Regions from separate parts of the Homo sapiens genome. Here regions 1 and 2 are each linked to region 3. The links are contacts of gene promoters, found by promoter capture Hi-C in blood cells and fetal thymus (Javierre and others, 2016). All regions are on one chromosome and are shown on one strand. The core of a region is centred on a gene start or on the middle of the fragment in contact, and the rest is flanking DNA. Distances in the headings are between cores, read along the strand shown. Region 1 holds the start of ABCD2 (ATP binding cassette subfamily D member 2). Region 2 overlaps SLC2A13 (solute carrier family 2 member 13). Region 3 holds the start of YAF2 (YY1 associated factor 2).

What was found. The method cuts DNA at HindIII sites, captures the fragments that hold promoters and counts their contacts. A CHiCAGO score of 5 or more calls a contact.
Region 1: a contact is called between a fragment that was not itself captured here and the fragment with the promoter of YAF2 in region 3, in 1 of 17 cell types (activated CD4 T cells). The highest score is 5.0, in activated CD4 T cells.
Region 2: a contact is called between a fragment that was not itself captured here and the fragment with the promoter of YAF2 in region 3, in 1 of 17 cell types (non-activated CD4 T cells). The highest score is 5.6, in non-activated CD4 T cells.

Annotation. Positions count from the first base shown.
Region 1 is chr12:39,619,188-39,623,625 of GRCh38, reverse strand. It overlaps ABCD2 (ATP binding cassette subfamily D member 2), which reads left to right and starts at 3,823. Exons shown (of 10, transcript NM_005164.4): 1 at 3,823-4,438. The coding sequence starts at 4,011. RefSeq lists enhancers at 2,203-2,282, 3,512-4,031, 4,342-4,421. The HindIII fragment of the contact is 1,017 bases long and covers 940-1,956 here.
Region 2 is chr12:40,096,983-40,101,681 of GRCh38, reverse strand. The region is part of intron 1 of SLC2A13 (solute carrier family 2 member 13); the gene reads left to right. Among named protein-coding and RNA genes, the nearest start is that of SLC2A13, 6.7 kb to the left of the region's middle. RefSeq lists a silencer at 1,841-2,135. The HindIII fragment of the contact is 4,970 bases long and covers 1-4,379 here.
Region 3 is chr12:42,236,609-42,241,119 of GRCh38, reverse strand. It overlaps YAF2 (YY1 associated factor 2), which reads left to right and starts at 2,872. Exons shown (of 4, transcript NM_005748.6): 1 at 2,872-2,965; 2 at 3,396-3,521. The coding sequence starts at 2,940. It overlaps LOC124902920 (a long non-coding RNA gene), which reads right to left and starts at 2,675. Exons shown (of 2, transcript XR_007063279.1): 1 at 2,393-2,675; 2 at 1,842-1,983. RefSeq lists silencers at 2,127-2,266, 2,457-2,696, 2,747-3,126, 3,227-3,296, 3,417-3,746 and an enhancer at 3,080-3,581. The HindIII fragment of the contact is 7,822 bases long and covers 1-4,196 here.

The DNA of each region.
Region 1 (4,438 bases), core at 199-2,698, 2.6 Mb after region 3:
GTTTCTCAAGATCTTTTCTAAGAAGATTTCTCCCCTCTTAAGAAAATTTTAATAATCTCCCATATAAACACACTTGAAGTTGAGACGTTTGTGTGGAAATTAGGCCTAAGTATGTTTTTTACTACAGTAACAAAGATTTTTTTCTCCTCTTTCCTAGTTTGGAATTCAAACTAAATTAACAGTCTCTTAGCTTTAATTGCATACTGTCAATAGAAAAAAACTGAAAGAAGGCCGGGCGCGGTGGCTCACGCCTGTGATCCCAGCACTTTGGGAGGCCGACGGGGGTGGATCACCTGAGGTCAGGAGTTCGAGACCAGCCTGACCAACGTAGCAAAACCTCATCTCTACTAAAAATACAAAAATTAGCTGGGCGTGGTGGTGGGCACCTGCAGTCCCAGCTACTTGAGAGACTGAGGCAGGAGAATCACTTGAACCTGGGAGGCAGAGGTGGCAGTGAGCCTAGATTGTGCCATTGCACTCCAGCCTGGGCAACAGAGTGAGGCTCCATCCCCCTCAAAAAAAGAAAGAAAGAAAGAAAAGAAAAAGAAAAAACTGAAAGAAGTACCTTGACATTCTTAGTTTTTTACTTAAATGCCATATATTATTGACCTAATTGTCCATATGGCTTCCTGTCTTCTTGAATCCTTCCTCTGCCTTATCTGAAGGCTTGTGTCTAGTCTCAGACACTAGGACCAACTCTTACCCTTGAGAGCAGGGAGAGGTGAATGGTGGGAGTGAAATTTAAGTGGTTAGAGTTAGGTCTTCACCTAAGTGGCTCAATATCAAATCAAATTTCACGTTGACATTTTCCACACTTCAAGTAACTCACTTTCAACCTTCCTTGTACCACGATTCAGGTAACAAAATTTCTGTCTTGATCATTTTCCTCATAAATAATTCTTCATTCTCACAAGTCTCTCACTCCAGATGCTGAAAGCTTGTTCCTGCACTATAACCTCATTATCAGTTGGTAAACTGACCTACCTCCAGCTAAGTCCTATTTGAATCTCTAGTGTCCTTTGCTTCTAGAGTTCTCACTGCCATGCTCCTCCCCTAATATGGCTGTCTCTGGTTGTATGTATTGCAAACCACTTGCCTCGACTGCCAGCTGCTGTCTGCATCCTTCTGTGTACCATGTTCTGCCTAACAACATCCTGCCATCACCCCCAGTTAGGTTTACTCTGGCCTTTAACCTGTCCTGTCACTGCTAACCCTTTTGTGTGTAGCTGTTAGGAGATGTGACATAAATGAAAGGCAACCTTATCTTGCATACAACAAAAGCAAGAGCTTAGGAATAAAAGATTTTGGCAATAACTTCCATGACCACTATTATCTGTACATACAGGCTTAAAAAGTCTTAATGGGATGATGGATTATGCTACTAATATGGCCAGCTATCAAAAAAACTTGCATGAGTTTGACACTCATGTGTCAGTCAGTCTGCTGAATTGAATGCAAACAAATGAAGAGATATGTGATGATTGTCAGAATTAATATGAGTACATAAGAAAGAAGTTTTAAAATTTTAAGAATATGGTTACTTATGAAAGTGAGGATAGTTCTTTGTGATAAACTCAGTAATGAAGATCATTTAATGCTGAGATGGGTTTTATATTCTAGCACAGAGGTTTGCAAACTTCTATAAAGGGCCAAATAGTACATATTTTAGTCTTTGTTGCATCCACCACTGTGGCTTGAAAGAAGCCATAGACAGAGAGTAAATGAATGGGTGTGACTGTTTTCCAATAAAACTTTATTTATAAACACAAAAATGAGAATTTTATATAATTTTCACAGGACAAAATATTCTTGTTTTGAAGTATTTTCAACCACTTTAAAAATGTAAAAATCATTCCTAGCTTAAGGGTCATATAAAATTAAGTGGCAGGCTAGATTTGGCCCACCAGTTGTAATTTGCCAACTTCTGTTCTAGCTTGATGCATATTTTCCTAAGCTTTTAATTGACTGGAAATGTGTATGTATGTTGGGGGCCAGCTGCTGGTGAACAAAACTGGCTGTAGCTACTGAGCATACTCAGTGTCACTTAGAAATCCCCAGAAGTTTCAGAATATATATCACTTTTGTAAGATTTCAGTAGATACCACAAGCAGAAGAGCAAGCAGAAAGGGAGATTTCCGAGAATTTTAATGAGATGGGGGGCGGGGACAGTGAAGAGCAAAAAAAATGGTTTTTCCATATCCAAAAATATACTCAGCCCTGACTTAAAAAATGCTCTTGGCTGGGCGTGGTGGCCCACGTCTATAATCCGAGCACTTTGGGAGGCTAAGGCAGGTGGATCACTTGAGGCCAGGAGGTTGAGACCAGCCTGGCAAACATGGCAAAACCCATCTCTACTAAAACTACAGAAATTAGCCAAGTATGGTAGGCGCACCCTCGTAATCCCAGCTACTCGGGCTGCTGAGGCACCAACCTGGGAGGCGGAGGCTGCAGTGAGCTGAGATCGTGCCACTGCACTCCAGCCTGGGTGACAGAGAGAGACTCTGTCTCATAAAAAAAAAAAAAAAAAAAAAAAAAAAAGCTTTTTACATTTTCAAAAATATGCAGAATTGTCCTTGACTGTTGAACAATTTAAATCCTCCATTATGGATGTGAAGAATTTTAAGACTCTTAGTTTTTATCAAATAACCAAATGGAAATAGGAAGTAGCCAGTAGATTATCTCTACAGCTAAACAAAACAAACAAAGCAGAAACCTGCAAAAGACAAAGCATTCTTGAAAAATGAAGTAAGGTCCTAGAGAAGCTATTTCCACCATCCAACACCAGCTGAATTCCCAAATGGTTAAACTTTCACTATAAGTGCTACCCCACTCCAAGTAAAAACTACCTAACACATGGGAGTAGTAAACATGAAACATTGCTCTCATTTATTTAATAGTCGTCACCTTGTAAATAAATATGAGTACATCAGATCTCCAGTTATGGGGCTGGAAGATTTTTAGCATAAGGACAAGTAGGATGCAGAGGAAAAAGGGAGAATGGCTAGAGGCATAGCAAATAATTATTTTCTGTAACACGGAAGACTTTTATCCTATTTATTTACAAGGGAAACCCTCGATTACAACTTGTCTATTAGGTTCTGAGACCTTTTGTGAAATCAGACCCCCAAAAAAGCCGGGGGGATCTGTGAAAAACAGATCCAAGTGTATTTGATATTTGGCATTCTCCGGTGTCCCTCCCACTTGTCACTTTCTTTTCTGATCCGTTTCAGATTCATTCCATATCCTTTTCATATTCATTTTATGTTGATCCTCTTGTCCCTCCTCCCTCATTTTCGTGGTTCCTTCTCCCTCCTCGTCTCATTAAAACTCTTGCAAATCTCCCTTTCTGCTTGCTCTTCTGTTTGCGGTAGCTGCTGAAATCTTACCGAAGTGATGTATATTCTGAAACTTCTGCGGGTTTCTAAGTGACATTGAGCATGCTCAGTAGCTAGGGCCGGTTTTGTTCGCTTGGAAATCTCCCTTTCTGCTTGCTCTTCTGTTTGCGGTATCTACTGAAATCTTACCGAAGTGATGTATATTCTGAAACTTCTGTGGGTTTCTAAGTGACACTGAGCATGCTCAGTAGCTAGAGCCGGTTTTGTTCGCCAGCAGATGGCCTGATTCGACCTCTCCAAAAATAGACATTTTAACTCTCTGAACTCCTGTTTAAGGAAGGATGTAATTCGCTTTGCTCTCTCCTCATTTTCAAGGTTCAAAGGGAAGCTGCGAGGATTCCAAGGTCCCACCGCCCTCACAGCCAATGAGGGGCCTGGGAGGGAGGAGCTTGGTGCAGCTTGAGCTTCTGAGAGAATCATTCCCGGTAGATGCAGCGGAGTCTGAGCTCTGCTGCATCTGTCACAGCAGAACAAAATTAAAAACACAACAGTGGAAGAGAAACGCTGCAGACTATGGGACGCTGTAGGACTTTCTAAAACATTTGCTGGGGATTTCTGTGAAGCATGATCTTTTAAAACGAATTCTTTTGGAAGCCGGTTTGGGTAACTGGGAAAATGACACATATGCTAAATGCAGCAGCTGATCGAGTGAAATGGACCAGATCGAGTGCTGCTAAGAGGGCTGCCTGCCTGGTGGCTGCGGCATATGCTCTGAAAACCCTCTATCCCATCATTGGCAAGCGTTTAAAGCAATCTGGCCACGGGAAGAAAAAAGCAGCAGCTTACCCTGCTGCAGAGAACACAGAAATACTGCATTGCACCGAGACCATTTGTGAAAAACCTTCGCCTGGAGTGAATGCAGATTTCTTCAAACAGCTACTAGAACTTCGGAAAATTTTGTTTCCAAAACTTGTGACCACTGAAACAGGGTGGCTCTGCCTGCACTCAGTGGCTCTAATCTCAAGAACCTTTCTTTCTATCTATGTGGCTGGTCTGGATGGAAAAATCGTGAAAAGCATTGTGGAAAAGAAGCCTCGGACTTT
Region 2 (4,699 bases), core at 645-3,144, 2.1 Mb after region 3:
GTTTTGGGGGGATTAGGCTGAATATGGTTTATTTGGAGAGCTTTTAGAGGTTTTTAACAGTAAATAATGTAATCAGATTTAACATCTCTTGAATCTGAGATGTGAGGGTTTTTGTTTTCCCATTATACTTTTAAGCTCTTTTACCTTCTTTCTTAAGTCTTCTCATGTCTTTGAAATTTTGGGTATTAGCAATCATTTGCTGAGATGGCTACTACAGGATGGGTAAAGCATAGCATGTGACCGTGAATTACTGATATGGAAGGAGTCAGTGGACCCTTCAGTAGAAACCTTTGACAAAGGCGAAGATAGCAAGGAGTAGAGTGTAGTTATTAATGGGTATTAAATGAATTGTATAGTAAAAGACCTTAAGTATCAGAAGTCAGGGATATGTGTATTTGTTTTGATTTAAGGGTTCTGTTTTCTTGACTGGTTGTAAAAAAAATACTGCGTGCCTGTTTTAAATATGGCATTATTTTGGGTTTTCTTTTCTTTTTTTTTTATTGGTTCACCAGAGTCATCTTTGGTTCCTCTAGTTTATTTTTCTCTTCCACTTGAGTCCTGACACTAGACTTTCTCCATTGTCGCTGCCTGCTACCATGACCATCTGAACTTTTTAAACGTGAAAAGTCGAATTTCAAATAGGACATACGTTTTCCATCCCAGAAATGATTGTATTCTAACAGGGTTAATCTTTTTTTTTTTTTTTTTTTTTGTCTGAGATGGAACTTCACTCTTGTCGCCCAGGCTGGAGCACGGTGGCGAGATCTCGGCTCACTGCAACCCCCACCTCCCAGGTTCAAGCGATTCTCCTGCCTCAGCCTCCTGAGTAGCTGGGATTACAGGCGCCTGCCCACCACACCCAGCTAATTTTTGTATTTTTGGTAGAGACAGGGTTTCACCATGTTGGCCAAGCTGGTCTCGAACTCCTGATCTCAGGTGATCTGCCTGCTTCGGCCTTCCAAAGTGCTGGGATTACAGGTGTGAGCCACCATGCCCGGCCCAGGGTTAATCTTATTTTGTATGTTCTTTACACACAATCCCATTTTCAGGTGTTTGTTTAGCAGTATTGTACCTATAATCAAGGTTTTGAAGTGTGGTTAGTTACAACAGGATTGAAGAATATGAGTTTGCTCATTTGCTTTATTTATTTTCTATCATTGTGTATCTCCCATGCATAACACAAAAGAAATTGTCTAGAAAACACAAAGTACAAGAGCATAGTACTGTTAACACTATTAGCATGTACACAGTCAGTGAAAAAGCATACCCATTAGCCCTTTCTCCCTGGTGTTGGCATTTATTCTACTGCTTATTATAAGTGGTGATTTAGGGCCTGTGTAGGGAATATCAAGAAATCTCTAAATTTGATAGTCACCAGTATTCAAAACCTTTCCTGAGAATTGACATACTAATTTATACAGCACGGGATTCGTTGAATTAATCTTAGATTTACATCAGTTTCTCCTGTGTCAGCCTCTTTCCGGACTCCCTCTACTTGAACACAATTTGTAGCTGTAAATTGCAGCTTGTAATTAGTATATTATGGCCTGTTGAGTAATACTTTTAAAAATACCACATTTTTTTTCAAACAGCACTTTGAATTCTTCCTCAGTGCAAATGAAATGTAAAATCTTGTTTGATCAAAAAAATGCAATGTTGAGATCAATGTCAACAAAGAATGTCATTTAAGGTAAGCATAGTTGGGCAGAAGCTCCTAATTTTCAAATAGTTAATCAGCTAAAATACAGTTTTGGGGGGAGGTGCTCAAATTTTTTTTTTTTCCACTACTCCCCACTTTCTTTCTTTTTGGTTGTTTTTGAAGGCAGGAATTCTGTATTGGATTTATGCTTCCTACTGGTGTGAAACTGACACATAAAGCCTCCTTTGACTTCTTGTATTTCCTTGTTTTATACACATTAACAGCTTTGTTCCCTCCCCTTTTCTGTCTGGCAGCCTAGGGACTGACACTGCAGTTATAGTGAGGATTATGATCTAGTTGTGTTTGCCTAGTAGTATAGCAACACCCTCTTCAAGTGAGTTGTCAGTAAGATAACGTAAGTCTGTTAACGTGAGTTATGTGAAATTGTTCACGTGACTTCCTTGGAAAACATTGTGCTTTTTCATTCATCCATTTTGCCCTCTTATGGATTATAAACTTAAAGTAAGAACACACTCAAAGTTAACTGACTTCACACTAACATCTTTTTGAACACCTTTAATGATGTAGAAACTGCTAAGAGAACTGAAATAGCAAGCAGTCGTTGCCATCTTTACCCAAAATCACCTGAGTCTAATTTTCTTTTTCTCATATTGTACTTGGCTCCTTTGTACATCTTTCTTGTCTACACCTTTTTCCATTTCTTTACCTTTCTTTTTCCTGTGACCCATCAGAGTAATAAATAGTAGCAACACTTCTTATAGCACCTATTTCTAATAGTATCAAAACTTCCATTGTCAGGAGGAAAATTCATACTCACCAGAAAAACCTCAAACTTTTCCCACATGTAAAATTTAATTTCTCTGGTTGTAGAAAGAGAGAAAAAAGTTTTACGGGTACTTCTAAACTCAAGTTGAGAGTACTACATGCTTTCTAGTTAGGCCTTTTATTAAAGGCCACCATTTGAAATGGTGCGGTCTGCAGCATGTGTCCAAGGCCACGTGGCAGGAGCATCGTTTCACAGCAGGGCCAAGCACCGTGACAGCTGGTCACCAGCGAGCAATGGCACCAGTGTTCTTCTGATTTTAGCGCCACCCTGCCGCTGCACTGGGAGGAGTCTAGGCAGTCCATCCTCTTGGCAGGGTGTGGATTGGCCATCAGCTTAGCGGCCAACACCCTGGACGTAGTACTTAAGACTTGTTGAATGCTTAACTTCTAAACATTTTGCACATGGCTAATTCACATAGTCTTCATAATAACCCAGGGGGATAATACGGTTACCTTTATTTTAAGATAAGGATATTTAGGCAGAAAGAGTTGAAGTAACTTTCTCATGATCACAAAGCTACTGGGTGGGGCCAGAGTTCAAACCCAAGAGGTCTGGCTTCCCAGCCTGTGCTCAACCAGTCTGTGACACTCACTCACTCACTCACTCCTCCCTGAAACTAGCATAATTGTTCTTTACCATGATATGTCATGTGGACATTACTTTTGTTTGTTTTAGTATAGATTTATTTTTTTATTGTGGTAAAGAACACATAACATTTATACTCTTAACCCATTTTAAGGTGTACAGTTCAGTATTGTTAGGTATATTCACATTGTTGCACAACACATCTCTAGAACATTTTCATCTTGCAAAACTGAAACACTGTGTCTATTAAACACAAATTCCCCAGCCTCTCTTCCCTATCCCTTGGCAACCCACCTTTCTACCTTCTGTTTCTATGATTTTTACTGCTTTGGATACTTCACGTAAGTGGAATCATGCAGTATTTGTCCTTTGTTGGCTTACTTCACTTGAGGTTCATCATGGTGTAGCATATGATAGAGTTTCCCTCTTTTTAAAGGCTGCATAATATTCCATTGTGTATATGTGTGTGTATATATATACACACCTATATATACACACACATATAAAAATAAATACACATATATGCATATATACATATATATACACATATATACATATATACACATATATACATATATACATACATATACACATATATAGGGCATTTAATCTATCCATTCGTCTGTTGATGGACCTTTGAGTTGCCTCTCCCTCTTGGCTGTTGTGGATAATGCTGCAATGAAGATGGGAGTGCATACATCTCTTTGAGGTCCTTCTTTGAATTATTTTGGATATATACCCAGAATTGAGATTGCTGGACCATGTAGTAGTTCTATTTCTAATTTTTTGAGGAACTTCTATCCCATTTTCCATAGTGGCTGCATTTTACATTGCTACCAGCAGTATACAGGGTTCCAATTTCTCAATATTCCCACCAATATTTGTTGTTTTCTTTTCTTTTGACAGTGGCCATCCTAATGGATATGAAGTGATATGGTGGTTTGGATTTACATTTCTCTTATGATTAGTGATGTGGAACATTTTTTCATAGGCTTGTTGGCCACTTGTACATTTGTATATCTTCTTTGGAAAATTGTTTATTGCATTTTCACGTCCCTGACCTATTTTTAATTGGTTTATTGCAGTTGCTATTGAGTTGTAGAAGTTCCTTATGTATTCTGAATATTAACCCCCTATCAGATATATGATTTGCAAATGTTTTCTTTCATTCCATTGGTTGCTTTTTCACTGTTTATTGTGTCTTTTGATGTACAGTTTTTAAGTTTGATGTAGTCCTATTTGTTTTTGCTAAACACACACAAAACTAAAACTGTTGGAGTCATTTGTCATGCCCCTTGAGAGTAAGCTTTTTGGAAGTTCTAATAAAATACTAGATTTTACTTCTAGGAGTATGTCATTTTGTTCCCTAGAATACATTCTTTGTGAAAATATATTATCTTCATTTCCTTTGATATAATGCTTTTTAGCAGCTTAACAGAGGCATTATAAAAAGTAGGCTCTAAAACAAAGCTCATTCTTTATGCCTATAGGTGTATATGTTTGCATTCACCTCAGTAAGTAGGAACATTGGTATTTTCCTTAGTTTAAGTATGAATTAAAGGAAGTGTAGAGAAATTAGGGAAATTAGCACTGTTAGTAACAGTGCTGAGATTTAAATCTGATCAAGA
Region 3 (4,511 bases), core at 1,623-4,122:
ATTGATTATTTAGTTTAGAAACAGGGTCTTGGCTTTGTTGCTCAGGCTGGTCTGGAACTCCGGGGCCCAAGTTATCTTCCTGCCTCAGCCTCCCAAGTAGCTGGGAATACAGGCGCGCGCTAACCTGACTATAAGTGGATGTATTTATTCTCAGAATATTTATTGAGTGCCCACTATGTGTCACACTGTTCTAGGGGCTGGAGATGCAGCAATAAAGGCAACAAAAGTTATTGTGCTTTTTGTTCATGATTCAGAGGTGCGGCTTACTTTTTAGTGAGGGAGGTTACAATCTAGTGAAATGGTGATTTGCAGCATGGGGGATTTTTAGAGTGCTTGATTTAGTTTCCTTTTTATTTAAAAATACATTGTTGCCATCACTTTTGCAAGTAGAGCAGTTCTTGTCAGTCTATTTGAGGATCCATCCAGTTGAGGCATTTAAAAACATCACAATGCCTTAGACTTGCAAGGGACCTTAGTTGTGATAATAGTTTTAACTCCTTTATTTTACATATGAAAAAAACTTAGCTGAGTTTACCCACTGCATTACTGAGAGGTTAAAGACTAGGCCTTAAATCTGGTTCTCTTGTATACGTGCCTCAATCATACTCCTCATGGTTCCTGGTTTCCGAATTTGGGTCTGAATCATGAGAAGCTACATTTGCAAAAAGTACAGATGGTACAACGAGTTTAGAGACTGCTATGTAAATGGAGTGATTTGGTTAATCAGAAAGAAGATGCGGTGAAAGACCAATAGGATACCTGAGCTCTAACCCTGGCCTGCTCATCAAAGAAAAACCATTTAACCTGGGCCCTAATTGCCTTGTCTTTAAAAAGAAGGGCTAGACTACGGATTTACAATGGCTCGACTTACGATTTTTCTACTTTACGATGGATTTATCGGTGTACCAAATGCATTTTCAATTTACAATATTTTCTATTTAAGGTGGATTTATCGGGAAGTATCCCCTTTCTAAATCGAAGAGCATCTGCAGTCGATGAGGCCATGTGCATAGTACTTTGAGTCCTTTAAAATATGCATCTATGCGCAGGGATTTACAAAGTGCCTGGCACATAGTGCTCAAAAAAATGTTATTTATTTATTTACTTAGAGGCGGAGTCTCGCTCTGTCGCCCAAGCTCGAGTGCAGTGGCACGATCTCGGCTCACAGCAACCTCTCACTCTCGGATTCCAGCGATTCTCCTACCTCAGCCTCCCGAGTAGCTGAGATTACAGGCGCCCGCCACCACAGCTGGCTAATTTTTGTATTTTTTAATAGAGATGGGGTTTCGCCACGTTGGCCAGGCTGGTCTTGTGAACTCCTGACCTCAGGTGATCCGCCCGCCTCGGCCTCCCAAAGTGCTGGGATTACATGCGTGAGCGACCGCAACCGGCCAAAAAATGTTATTATTAATCGCACAACAATCTCATATAGATGCAATTCAGAATATGAAAACGTTGAGAATTACAGAAATTAAGCAATACTTCCAAGGTCTATCAGCTAAGAAACAGGAGAAGCAGGCTGAGAATCCTGGGCTTCTGACTGTATTATTTCCTATGTAGTTTAGCTATAAAATTATTTTACATGAATTCGGACTTGATGTAAACCTAGAAAGATGGACAGAAACAGCACAGTTAAAGAGGGATATACTTTATGCAGAAGTAACCCATGTGCATGAAGGAAGGGTTCTGGTAAGGGAATGAATTTCATCTGCACTCTTTGTCAGGAGGCAGCTTTCCTTATGGGAGAGGGAGGCAGAGGTAGGGAAAATGTGTGAAGCCTTTGAATGCCAGGCTAAGGAGTGTGGGCAAGTCGTTAGTGGTTCTTTATCAGAGTGGTGGCATAGTATTAACAGCATTTTATTATTAATCTGGTTGTGGATTACTGAATACATTGGGGAGGTAGAAGTGGAGCTTCGGAGACCAGTTAGATGGCTGTTGCTGGAGTCTGGAGTATGAGGACCTTTAGTATGTTGACGTAGAGACCTGGGAAGGTGTTCTTTTGTTAGCAGACAGCGTTGAGGGGACATGCAAACTCCTTATATTTAAAAAGGACTTATGAGTATATAGGGGTTTCTTTCAAAAGCAGCTACTGCAGAGGCCTGAGAGGCCAAAAGGGCGCGTTTGGAATTAAAACAGAGTTAGACTCTTGGCTTTGTCATTTTCTAATTATATAGCCTAGAGGAAGTCACCTAATCTCTCTTGAGTCTTGATTTCAATTCCTCTAAGTTAGGGTTGACAATCCCTACTTGTTAGAGCATCTGTGTGCATAAACCAGACAGTGCTTTAAGGCATGTAGCAATGGCGCTGCGTGTTGGTTCCCGCCTTCCCCCCGGTATACTGCAGGCGGGGGCTGGGTAGCTAAGGACAGCGGAGGCCAGGAAAGTCGTTCTACCTGGAGATCCCGGGCTGGCACTTCTGTCCAGACCTGGACAGGCCTCCGAACGCCGGCCGGCCCTACCTTGGACCAGGCTTCGCACGGGATGACGGAGCATCCCCTGCCAGTCGGTGGGACAGACGTTTTCCTCCTCAGAGGGGCTCTGGAGCGCGAGGCAGTCCCCGGCAGCCGGGGGTACCAAGGGGGCAACGGGGGAACAGCGCGGAGAGGCGGCGCCGGCGCCCGAGGCAGCCGCGGCCACCGCGGCCACCCCCGCACCGCCCGCCGGCTAACTCGCCGCGGGTGCTGGGCCGCGCTGGCCGCGTTTGAAGTCTCCGGCGCGGCTGCTGGTTGGCCGGCGAGGGTCACGTGCGCCCAGGCAGGAGTTTCCCCGACAGCTGGAGGCTGCGTGGGATCCGGCGGCGGCTCCCGAGCGCGGCGGTGCGGCCTTCCCCGCCCCCTCCCTCCCTCCTCCCCCGCCCGCTTCCGCCCGGCTTATTATCCTCCTTATTGACAAACAGAGCGGTCGCGGCGGCGACTCTCGGCGTGCGGTGATAGCCAAGCCATGGGAGACAAGAAGAGCCCCACCAGGTAACAGCGCCCGGGCCCCGGGGCCCGGACTGTGCGGGCGGCAGGGCCCTCGTGCAGGGCTTCGGGTGGCCGCCTCGCTAGCCGCCCGGGCACCGGGGCGAGCACGGGGGCAGCGCCGCTGGTGTGCGAGTGCTGCCGCTTGAGGGGGCCGGCGCCGGCCGCCCCACAATGGAGCCGCGATGGCGGCGGCGACCGGAGCGGCCGCCCGGGTGTCAGAGCGGCTGTGGCGGCGGCGACTGCGGCCGCGCTCGCGCCCTGCCTCTTCCTGACTCCCTTCCCCCTCAGCCGGAGCGCGGCGCGCCGAGGGCCCGCGGGGCGGGGGTCGCAGAATTGGGGCGGGGGGCGGGGCGGGGGCGGCCGCGGGGCCCGGGCACCGGGCGCGGCCTGCTGGTGACCCCGCGCCGCGTCGTGTCCGGGTTGTGTCCTGCAGGCCGAAGCGGCAGCCGAAGCCGTCCTCGGATGAGGGTTACTGGGACTGTAGCGTCTGCACCTTCCGGAACAGCGCCGAGGCCTTCAAGTGCATGATGTGCGATGTGCGGAAGGGCACCTCCACCCGGTGAGTCCCGGGCCTGCCCCTCGCGCCGCCGGCCGGCGGGGTGGCGACCAGAGGACGCCCTTGCGGCTGCCGCCCCCTCCCATGACACTGGCGGACCCGGCGGGAGGAGGCAGACGGAGGTGGCTGTGGCGATAGGAACTGGGTCACATTGATCGCAACCCAGGCGATGGTTTGCGGTGAGGGGTAATTGAAGAGGCTGTAACGTTTTTTGCTGCCAAGAGAGAATAAATTATTTAAGGGAGGCATTAGCTACTGCGATTTAATTCGTATCGCTGGGTGTAATGCCCCTCTCCCCATTCTGGGTATAAAAATGTTGGCTGCATTGTTGTGTTAGTGTGTGGGGATCAAGGAAAACCCATAAAATCTCTTTAGGAGCAAAGGATGTAATTTAATTTCGTTCCTAAAGAAAGAAAAGTATCTGATTGCAGAATACACAATATATTAAAACTTATTTTTCTACATGTACTTCTGGAAGGGTCAGATCAAGGTTTTATTTAGTGTTTTTATTCCAGTACTCTAATATTTTATAAATAAGTAGTTGGAGATGAGCCCAGTCACAGGAACAGATTTTTACTGAAAGTACCTTTATATCTTTAGTTTGATTAAATGGCAGTCTCTTAGACAAATGAGATGAAAAGATCTCTGCCTATTTTCAGACTTTATTTATTGTAAGCTTGCAGTATAATAACTCTGTCTTTTAAAAAATGACTTTGAATTAAGTGAATAAAGAAAATCATCCAGGAAATTCAGTCAGTGGCATTCTTAATCTGTCAGCACTTAGTTATCGAGCTCCTTGATTCTTATACGAAGGTACCCTTTGAATTAAATATAATCCTGTGATTTATTACTTAATATTTAGAGAAGATATGTATTTTGATATTACAAAGTCCATTAGAAACTAAACTATAACAATAAGCATACTAATCTTACTGTTGCTTTAAAAAAGAAGGCACATGTAATATTGACATATACAAATATTCAGTAGACGTT